Linked DNA regions of Homo sapiens: regions 1 and 2 are each linked to region 3. The links are contacts of gene promoters, found by promoter capture Hi-C in blood cells and fetal thymus (Javierre and others, 2016). All regions are on one chromosome and are shown on one strand. Each heading gives the region's core, a stretch centred on a gene start or on the middle of the fragment in contact. The rest is flanking DNA. Distances are from core to core; before and after follow the strand shown.

Evidence for each region. The method cuts DNA at HindIII sites, captures the fragments that hold promoters and counts their contacts. A CHiCAGO score of 5 or more calls a contact.
Region 1: a contact is called between the fragment with the promoter of TOR1AIP1 here and the fragment with the promoter of SMG7-AS1 in region 3, in 4 of 17 cell types (activated CD4 T cells, non-activated CD4 T cells, total CD8 T cells and 1 more). The highest score is 8.7, in activated CD4 T cells.
Region 2: a contact is called between the fragment with the promoter of CEP350 here and the fragment with the promoter of SMG7-AS1 in region 3, in 5 of 17 cell types (non-activated CD4 T cells, total CD4 T cells, naive CD8 T cells and 2 more). The highest score is 10.1, in non-activated CD4 T cells.

The regions. Positions count from the first base shown.
Region 1 is chr1:179,881,011-179,883,956 of GRCh38, forward strand. It overlaps TOR1AIP1 (torsin 1A interacting protein 1), which reads left to right and starts at 1,275. Exons shown (of 10, transcript NM_015602.4): 1 at 1,275-1,967. The coding sequence starts at 1,493. It overlaps LOC139427322, which reads left to right and starts at 1,306. Exons shown (of 1, transcript NM_001436163.1): 1 at 1,306-1,383. The coding sequence starts at 1,306. The coding sequence ends at 1,383. RefSeq lists enhancers at 641-1,179, 1,092-1,201, 1,180-1,717, 1,222-1,981, 1,544-1,838 and 1 more. The HindIII fragment of the contact is 5,266 bases long and covers 362-2,946 here.
Region 2 is chr1:179,952,742-179,956,059 of GRCh38, forward strand. It overlaps CEP350 (centrosomal protein 350), which reads left to right and starts at 2,069. Exons shown (of 38, transcript NM_014810.5): 1 at 2,069-2,401. RefSeq lists an enhancer at 1,765-2,266 and a silencer at 2,054-2,503. The HindIII fragment of the contact is 10,111 bases long and covers 447-3,318 here.
Region 3 is chr1:183,470,148-183,473,380 of GRCh38, forward strand. It overlaps SMG7-AS1 (SMG7 antisense RNA 1), which reads right to left and starts at 1,835. Exons shown (of 5, transcript NR_040063.1): 1 at 573-1,835; 2 at 318-393. SMG7 (SMG7 nonsense mediated mRNA decay factor) reads left to right here and starts at 2,352. Exons shown (of 23, transcript NM_001375584.1): 1 at 2,352-2,502. The coding sequence starts at 2,474. RefSeq lists silencers at 28-217, 2,190-2,339 and an enhancer at 1,403-2,034. The HindIII fragment of the contact is 8,906 bases long and covers 1-3,233 here.

The DNA of each region.
Region 1 (2,946 bases), core at 25-2,524, 3.6 Mb before region 3:
GCTGAAGCAGGAGAATGGCGTGAATCCGGGAGGCAGAGGTTGCAGTGAGCCGAGATCGCGCCACTGGACTCCAGCCTGGGTGACAGAGCAAGACTCCGTCTCAAAAAAAATAAAATAAAAATAAAAATAAAATAAAAACATAGTACACATTACGACTTAAGTAGTTGAAATTTGTGCCAAGTTTGAGCAACAAATGAGTTGCTCAAAAACATTTTAAGGTGATTACTTGGAAGAATAAACAAACACCTTCAAACTTTTCAGAATCGCTCATTGTAACTGGTATCCAAATTACAATTTTTTAAATCTATTCACTCCAATCATACAAAGCCCTACAAGCAGTTGTATATTTGAAGGCAATTTAAGCTTTCTTTCAATAATTATTCAGACTTTACACGAACTTAATCGACCTTCTCTGAATGTGTCTAAATTTGGTTAGGTATTTGCAGATTAGCCACATCTGTAAACATTTGTATAAGGAGGTGAAACAAATAGATTTTACCATGCTTTCTTATTCCATAAAGTCCATAAAGCATTCTAAATCAAATGTAGAGTATCACGTCACATCCAGAATAAAAGTAAAAATAATGGATCACAACTTAAAATTACAGTGCTGTCTTTAATTAAAAAACTTGTTCATTTCTCACTGTGCACAATGTAGCACTAACATGGTCTTCCGAACACTGCTGCTTGGTATAAAACCGAGAAATATTAAAGACCAGGAATAAGGTTATGTGTCCTATGGGTACATTTCGGAAAAGAAAATACATCCAACGAGTATGACTCTAGATAGGATTTTGTACACCCTCAACAAGTGACAAAATTCAAAACTAGGTAACCGCCCTCATAAGGTACTTGAAACTAAAATTTTTGCCACGAAAACATGGCATGTGCAAAAGTTCTCTCTCTGGCCATCACTCCTGCTAAGGACACTGGGAAGGACATGGTCAACGTAGCAGTCGATCAAAAAGATTCCAGGGAAACTGCGCAACAGCCTGGGGCCGAGAAGCGAAACTTGGGTCTTCTCCACCCTCGTCGCACTCCTTTTCCCCGAGACTTGGTACTGGGAGATAGGACGGGAGTCTCCTACACGCAGTCAACACTTGCCACGAGCGGCTAGACTTAGGACAGGCAAGTTGCCCTGCCATCCTTCTATCGCCCCCACCCCTCCTTTACTTAAGGGCGATGGCAGAGACGTCCTCCTCCCCCTTCTCCTCCTCTTTGGTGCCTCCAGCCAGGAGGCGGGAGCGATCCACAGCAGCTGACCCAGCTCAGGCACTGCCTCTCTCACAGCCCTCAAGACACACCATGGGCCCAGAGGCAGGTTTGCTACACAGCAGCGACGACGCAGGCGGCGGCCCCAGCGACTCGCAACTGCCTCCCTGACCACAGCGGCCACCGCCCAACACCCCCGAGAAGCCATCGCCACCACCGGCAGGAGAACCTAGGGTCCATAAAGCCATCTTCGCGATCGACTAAAGCTACGTCAACAACTATGGCGGGCGACGGGCGGCGGGCAGAGGCGGTGCGGGAAGGATGGGGTGTGTACGTCACCCCCAGGGCCCCCATCCGAGAGGGAAGGGGCCGGCTCGCCCCTCAAAATGGCGGCAGCAGCGATGCGCCTGCGTACAGAACTCCTCCGTCGCGCCAGGGCCGGCGGGAAGTGAGGTTCTCGGACGAGCCGCCAGAAGTGTACGGCGACTTCGAGCCCCTGGTGGCCAAAGAAAGGTCCCCGGTGGGAAAACGAACCCGGCTAGAAGAGTTCCGGTCCGATTCTGCGAAAGAGGAAGTGAGAGAAAGCGCGTACTACCTTCGGTCTAGGCAGCGGAGGCAGCCGCGACCCCAGGAAACCGAGGAAATGAAGACGCGAAGGACTACCCGCCTTCAGCAGCAGCACTCAGAGCAGCCTCCGCTACAGCCGTCTCCTGTTATGACCAGGAGAGGGCTGCGGGACTCTCATTCCTCTGAAGGTGAGGACCGCGGAGGTAACAGTCCCAGCCGCGAGCCAGGGAACGCGCGGGGGCGGGCGCGCGCCTCGGTGGAGCTCATGCCCGCCTGGGTACTAAGTACTGGGATTGGCTAAAGGGTATTCCTCAGCCCCCTCTGGACTTGTGCCGCCGTGCAAGGGCCACCCTGACCCGCAGCGGGGAAGGAAGCGCCGACCGGAGGAGTGGAAAGATGGTCGTGTGGAGCGACCCGGGCAGGGCTGGGGCGCTCTGCCCAACATCGGGCATCAATTTAGGGGAGTCAGAGCTGCCTTTTTCTGCAGGCCTTCACGAGGGGACAGCGAATTACTGCAGGGTCGGTTTCATTTCGGTTCCCTCTACCCTGCGGATGTTTCTACAGAAACCACTTCCATTTCCTTCTTTAACGCTCGCGGGCCAGAGTCCCCAGCTGAGGATCTAACCTTTCAGTCTTTTTCCCTCCTCACCCAGGTGGGCAGAGAGGAAGGAGAAATTTTGTGAGTGGGCATTTCGAGGGATTGCTGAGTTTAGTGAATTGATTTGAGACCTCACCCAATACTTTCACCGAAATGGGGTAACTCATTTTTCCTGAACTGATGTTCCCCAGTGTTTGATAACTTGAGCTGATTGCTGTTTCTCCAGTGTGGTGGTCCCTGCCAAAAATCTGCCACTTTGGTGGCCGTCACTGTAACCTCAAGTAGTCTGGCAAATCAGACTGACAAAGTAACCTGAAAAACAAGACTATTAATTAGAGTTTTCGTCTAAATGGACAAAAGGGATGCTGACAAAGTGAGTGTATAGTGTTAGGTAAGTCATAGGTGAATCAGTTTCCTTAATCTATCCTCTCCCACCCTGCCCCCCCCATTTTAGGACCTAACACTGAGTCACAGATGAAGTTTCATGTTAATCCCATGTAAGGCACCTGTGAGGTAAAAATCAGCGGACCTGAGTCACAATGGGATGACATAGTTTGTGGTAGACTATT
Region 2 (3,318 bases), core at 819-3,318, 3.5 Mb before region 3:
AAAATGCAATCTTAGTGTCTACTAAAAAGTAGGAGAAACAAGGGAGCCATATTGAATACCTATTACCGGCCTAACACTGCGGAGACGTCTGGGAAGGGCCACAAACCTTTCCACAGTAAACCTCCAATCTTGTTCCAGAGATTAATTACTCTCATGAAACTATATGCAACTAGTACAAAACTTGATAGATTCAGGGCCAATCTGTAGGGTAAACACAAGAGTAACGGGATATTAGAAAAGAAAGACATTGATGTGCTTGGGGAATTTAGGAGGCGAGGAGAAGACAGACCAACACAAGGTATAAGAAGTAGAAATTGTGCATAGGCTGATACCAGGGTAACCCTGCTCTGAGCACAGTGACAGAACTTTGGTGTCTTCTCTGTTGTCAAGGGGATAGCATGGGGCTGAAAAAGTATAAACAGGCTTTGGGGCAAAGCAGATCCCAAAGCTTACAGCTCCCTTTTATTGATGGTATAAAATTGGGCAAATTACTTAGCTTTTTCAGTACTTGTTTCTTTTTCTTTCTTTCTTTCTTTTTTTTTATTTTTTTGAGATGGAGTCTCACTCTGTTGCCCAGGCTGGAGTGCAGTGGTGCGATCCCGGCTCACTGCAACCTCCGCCTCGCAGGTTCAAGCGATACTCCTGCCTCCGCCTCCCGAGTAGCTGGGATTACAGGCACCCGCCACCACGCCCGGCTAATTTTTGTATTTTTAGTAGAGACGGGGTTTCACCATCTTGGCCAGGCTGGTCTTGTACTCCTGACCTCGTGATCCACCCGCCTCGGCCCCGCAAAGTGCTGAGATTACAGGCGTGAGCCACTGTGACCGGCCAGTACGTGTTTCTTCGTTTTAAAAAAGTGAGTATATTTAATAAGGTGGTTGTTTACATTCAGTAAAATAGCGCATGAAAAGCATCTAACACAGGGCTTTAAACAGCAAGACTGGGCAAAACCTAAATAACATTTTCCTTATGTTGTCTTTTTTGCTACCACTTGCACCATACGATTACCCACATTTCCTGTCCCCTCCAGTGCAGCTTCCTGGAGACACTTCACACGTATGCAGGACTTCTGTACATCCTACTCAGGCACAGCTGTAGGCCCTACAAAGAGGGACCATTTACTGCCTCCTGCTGTCATTGATATTCGACAAACATTTATTGAGCACCTACAATGTCCTAGTTACTGTGCTAGGCCATTTTGGGGTATAGAGAGATAAAACAGATCTTAAAGTCTTCACGACACTTAAAGATGAGAAACAGTCTCTGGGTAAATAACTATCGGAGTTCAGAAGGTGGACAGAAGTGGTGGGCGGCGAGTCTGTGTGCAGTGAGCACCTAGCGGAAGATGGCATTATTTGCAGAAGAGAGGTCCTTTAAGCCAAGTCTTGATAGATGATTTCACCACGCGGAGATTGGGAAACGAGGACAAAGATATGAGAAGATATGTTGGCCACAGAGAGCCTCTCAAAGCACTGTTAAAGCAAAGCCAATACTTAATGGGAGGAAACTCCGTTTTACTTGCGTGGAGTCTTAAGTCATTAGATGCATGCTAAACAGAACTGTAACCCTCGCGAATAAAACGGCCACAGTGACAGCAGTGGGTAACGGCAGAGCTGCAACTACTCTGACAGGGGTGACGACTTATTTGGACGACAGTTGGTGAAACATTGTAAACTCTCAGAAGCTGCCGTTTCCAGACTTTGAGTTCATTCTTGTCGAATCCCCAGCTTGTTTTCTCAGCCCGGGGTGAAATGCGCAGCCAAAAGGCCCAATGAGCGTCAAAGCGAAAGGGCAGGGGTGGTCTCTTCTGCGGATATACCTTGGCTCCTCCCAAGTCCTACGAGTTTAAACTTCGACGCACCAAACATGGCTTCTTCGCGGTTCTGCTCCTTGTTTTATTTCGCTCCCACCTTTCGGCCACACTCAACATGGCCCTAACCGAAGGTTGGCATGCCTGTGGCACTGTCTCGGGACAGTTCTCGCGAGGTTTGCCTGGGCCCGACTGCTCCCGCCCTGCCTCGCGCCGCCGCCACAGCCGCTGCCGCTGGCGCCGCTCCTCCTCCGTGTCAGTTGTTGGGCTGTAATGGCGACTGGGCCGCCCCTGACGAAGTGACTCCCGGGCCGGGGAGCGGGGCCAGACCTGCGCCAGAGAGAACTGCAGGGAGCCGCAGCTCGGGGGGTGGCTTGCCCTGAGGGAGGGGAGGCAGCCTTTCCGCCTTGTCTTCCTTCCCAGCGGACCGGCGGATCCCCGGAGCCGGTGCGAGGAGGGCACCCGGTGCGTCCCCGGAGCGGGGAGGCCAGGCCGGGCAGCCCTGGGGCCGGTCGGGGCGGCGTCACTGCACCCTCCGCCAGGCTCCGCGGGATGCACCGTGGTAGCCGAGGGCGGAGGCGACACTCTCAGGTGAGCTCCTGTAGGACCTGGCTGGGACCGCGGAGTCTCGCTCAGCCTCAACTGTCTCTGTCCGCGGTCCCGGGTCCCCGGTGGCGGCAAGAGAGGCGGGGCCGGGCGCGGAGAGTCTTGGCCCTGCTTGGCGTCCCCCTCGGGGAACCTCCCTGGGTTCTGAGGCTTTTCGGGGACCTAGGTTTCGGGTCCCACCAGTGCCTGCTGAAGACGGAATTTCCTTCCTTACGTGCCAGTGTCCTCCCGCCTCCTCCACCCCTCCTCTAGCCTGCAGAGGTAAGATACCTCTAGCCTTTGCTGCCCGGAGAAGTGTCCCTTCTTCATCTGGCGATCAGGCGTATTTGGGGAGATTCCGGGGACTGGCTCCAGTGGCAGGGATGATCAGTTTCTGTTCCTTTTCAGTGGGGATCACATTCTCAAGTATAGGGAAAACTTTGATCTACTCTAGTCTAGCGGCTGCTGAAGGTAGTTTATTCACAGATAATTTGGGGAAAGATTTAAAAGGCTTTATGTTTTGGAAGTTGTCAGTATTTTCCTCTGCCTTTTAAATGCAGCTCAACATGCTAAGTAATATTTAGCTAATGTCACAAGATATGAATTGGAATTTGCCTGGATTTTAAATATTCAGATAGAAAGTTGCACATAGGCATAGATTTTAATGTTTTAATGCAGTAGCAAATCCTTCATATGGGAAAAAACAGGTTGTCAGAAATAGTGATCAATATCCATGTACTCCACCTGATTGTTTTGTTTTGATGGTGATCCTTGTTTTGAATTTGGGGAAGTCGTTATTGTTGCCATGTTAACGATACCTCCTGCCCTGTATTTGAAGAGTTTTAAAAGAAAGACTATCTTTGGCAGAGCTAGTAACAATCTGAAAAGTTCTGTAGAAACAATGATAAAATACTAAAAGTTGC
Region 3 (3,233 bases), core at 585-3,084:
AATGTAGGCTATTTGAGGTAATAGGTAGTAGGAGTGTCTATCCTTGGGCGCTCATGGTAGAAAGAAAAGCAGAACCCCACCGCGGAAATGAGAATAATCCCTCACTAGGTGGCTCTCTTTGCCGTGAGTGGGCGGCGCGTCGGGGCGGGGCGGGTGATTGGGGGCATTGTACTGCCGCAAGCGCTGCGTGTCACGCCGCACCATACCAGGCGCTGGCAGCATGAGGGGCATAGTCCACTTTCTATTTCGTTAATGACAATCTGTCCTTGGAATTTATTTCAAAGCAGGTTGTACTTTCGTTTCCGCTAAACTTATACCTGATGTTTCAACTGAACATTGGTATAGTCTTATTGGTGCAGGTCTCAGAGAAGGATCTTGAAAGTGCCTCTTCACCTGGCGTAGAAAAAGACAGCAGGAATCAGGTAGCCAAACCAGACCAAACCAAATCAAAATAGCCCATTAAAATCCTTATTTTAACTATCCTATGAGGGCTGCATTCTTGGAAGGTTTTATATAGTTACATATCCTAAAGTACTTTGGGATAGCTCCTTAAGTGACTCCACAATACGAACCGAAAATATAACTTGTAAAACGTCAATTTCTTCAAGTCATGGATGATGAATTTTCCAGCTATTTCTCATACACTTCATATTATTATTGACTTCGTTCTTTATTTCAGCTTTTTGGCCCGAAACCTGACACAAAACACACATAATAAATATCCAAAAAGATTTGTTCTAAGAATGAAACTTCTTTTCCTAGACTCCTTTCACCAGACAGATGTATCTAGGGTTCGTTCTTCTTGATCCTCTTTTATCCGATGTTTTCCTCTCTAACTCAACGACACAGAATGACGACTTTTAAAACACTGCAGACCCGTGAGAAGAGAAAGGTTGCAGAGCAGGGAGGAACTTGGAGGTCTGCCTTTAATAATCAAGCAGGATCCCCACTGCGGGGTGCCTATCAGAGTGATGGCGCTAGTCAGCCTTCCGGCTTGTCCCCGGCTTAAATGATAGAAAACCACGTGTTAGCCTTCTAGGATGTGTTCCCACCCTCACCCTGGCCTCCTCGCGGCAGGCTCGCGACAGCTAGGTCAGGAGGGAGTACGCGGGTGGGGTGGATTTGGGGGAGGGGTCGACTCGCCAGAAGTCGGCTATCCCCGTCGGCAGGGAAGGCATCGCGGCTGTCGTGTGCCGCTCTCCTCCCTCAGGGACCCCGTCCAGGCGGGATCCCGCCTCCCAGAGCCCAAGGCAGTTGTGGGGAAACCCCTTGCCCTTCCTCGCCGCTTGGCGCTGTCGCCTCGCCCTCCCGACTCCAGCCCGCCGCCCGCCAGCCTCCAGGCCATGCATCCTCTTCGCAGGCCCAGCCCTCTCCACGCCCGGCTCTGAGAGGAAACTACGGAGGTGGTTCCCGCTCGCAGGCGGGTGGAAAAGCCCATGGTGAATGCCTCGGGGTGTCCCCCCAGTTGCTGTGGGAAGTGGGAAGGGAGGAGGAAGTGGACTTCACCACCGGGGAGAACTATATCGATTCCTAACTTGGGGGAGGCCTTTAGATGGAAGGGAAGCCAACGGGGAACCCTGGGTGGTTTCCTGGGAATCCATTGGCCAAGGGGAGGGTGACCCTGTCCGCACACATCGGTTACTATGACAATATAACCACAGCCTCCAGTTGCCATGGCAGCTGCCTATCCAATCCGATTGTCTTCTCTTCCTCTCCGGGCCCCACCTTATCCCCTCCAAGAGTCTCCCAGCGTGCATGGGGAGGGGCTGCAGCGAAGAGGAGAGGGGGTCCTTCGAGTCACTCTCTACGCGCGAGGGAAGACAGGCGTTGAGGGACTGCTGGGAGGAACTGTAGGAGGAAGGGGCGGCGTTTCCGGTGGGGAAGAGTGGAGGCGTGCAAAAAGGAAGAGGGAAATCGGCAGGAGTGATAAGAAGGGGGAAGACTTTGAGTGTAACTCCCGTTCTTTTGGCCTGGGTGTTCCCGGTGGTGGGATTGGGATTGCCCCCTTGCGCGGGAGGAGAAGGGTGGATTGGCAGGAAGCCGCCAAGCGCCACCAGCCGGTCTCTCAGAAGCCGCACAGGCGCCACACAGCTCGTTGATCCCAAAAGGGAGCGCTACAGAGAGGCGGAAATCACTGAGGGACAGGCGCTGCTGAAATCTCGCGAGAGGGACCCCCTCCCTCGCCCGGTCGCCGACTTCCTCTGCTTCTCCTCTTTCCCCCGCCCCTCCTCCCTCCCCCTCCCCCCCGGGTCGGAGTGTCCCTGCGCCCCACGGGCCAGAGCAGCAGCGAGAGCAGCTTTCCCCACTCCCTCCCCCTCGCCTCATTCACCCCCACCCCCCTGCCGAGCGAGGAGGAGCCGGAGGAGAGGAAGATGGCGGCGGCCGCCAGCACCCGCGGTGCCGCGGGGCCGCTCCGAGGAGCCTGAGAGACCCACGGAGGCTTCGCGGGAAGACGCGGCGGCGGCGGCGGAGGATGAGCCTGCAGAGCGCGCAGTACCTCCGGTGAGTGCCGAGGCCGGGCTGGTACGTAGGGGGAGCGGGCCGCAGGTTGGGGCATGGAGCAACAGACACCGAGGTAAGTCCGGGGTGGCGGGGGAGTTGCTGCGTCCTCTCCTCGCCGGGCAGGTCGGCGGAGACTGCAAGGGGATCTGCGGGAGGGGGCGGAACGGGTATGGGTGCCTAGCCCCTACCGCCCGGGCTGAGCTCTGGCGAAGCCGGCTCGTCCCGGTGCGAGGAGGGAGGTTGGGGAAGCGTGAGAATGTGCGCGCGCGCCCTTGGTCTCGGGTTTGCTAGCGAGGGGTGGAGAGAAACGTCCGGGGAGGCGGCGGCGACCCCGAGTGGAGGTGGGTGTGGAGGAGTCTGATCCCCGTGGCAGGGGACTCGTGGTGTGGCGTGGGATTGGTTGGAGCGATGCATGAGTAGAGGACGGGGAGGAAGTCTGCACACCTGGGGTGTTGGGGCGGGGGAACCGCGGAGGGCAGACAGGGGGAGAGGGAGACCGCAGGAAACTGGAGCTTGTTCTTCATTCTCGGGTTGGGAGTATTGAGGAATAATGTCATCTGTAGTTAGTTGGCGGTGTGGGGAGGCGTGAAGGGGAATAGATGGGGAAGTGAGGAAAGAGGGAGGCACTGTGGACAAGGTTGGGTTTTTCAGAAGAAACTGGGTTAGAATCAGTGTAGTCGGAAGATACCATTCTGAGAGTCGTGTGTATTCATTAAGAGTGGTGTAAGGAA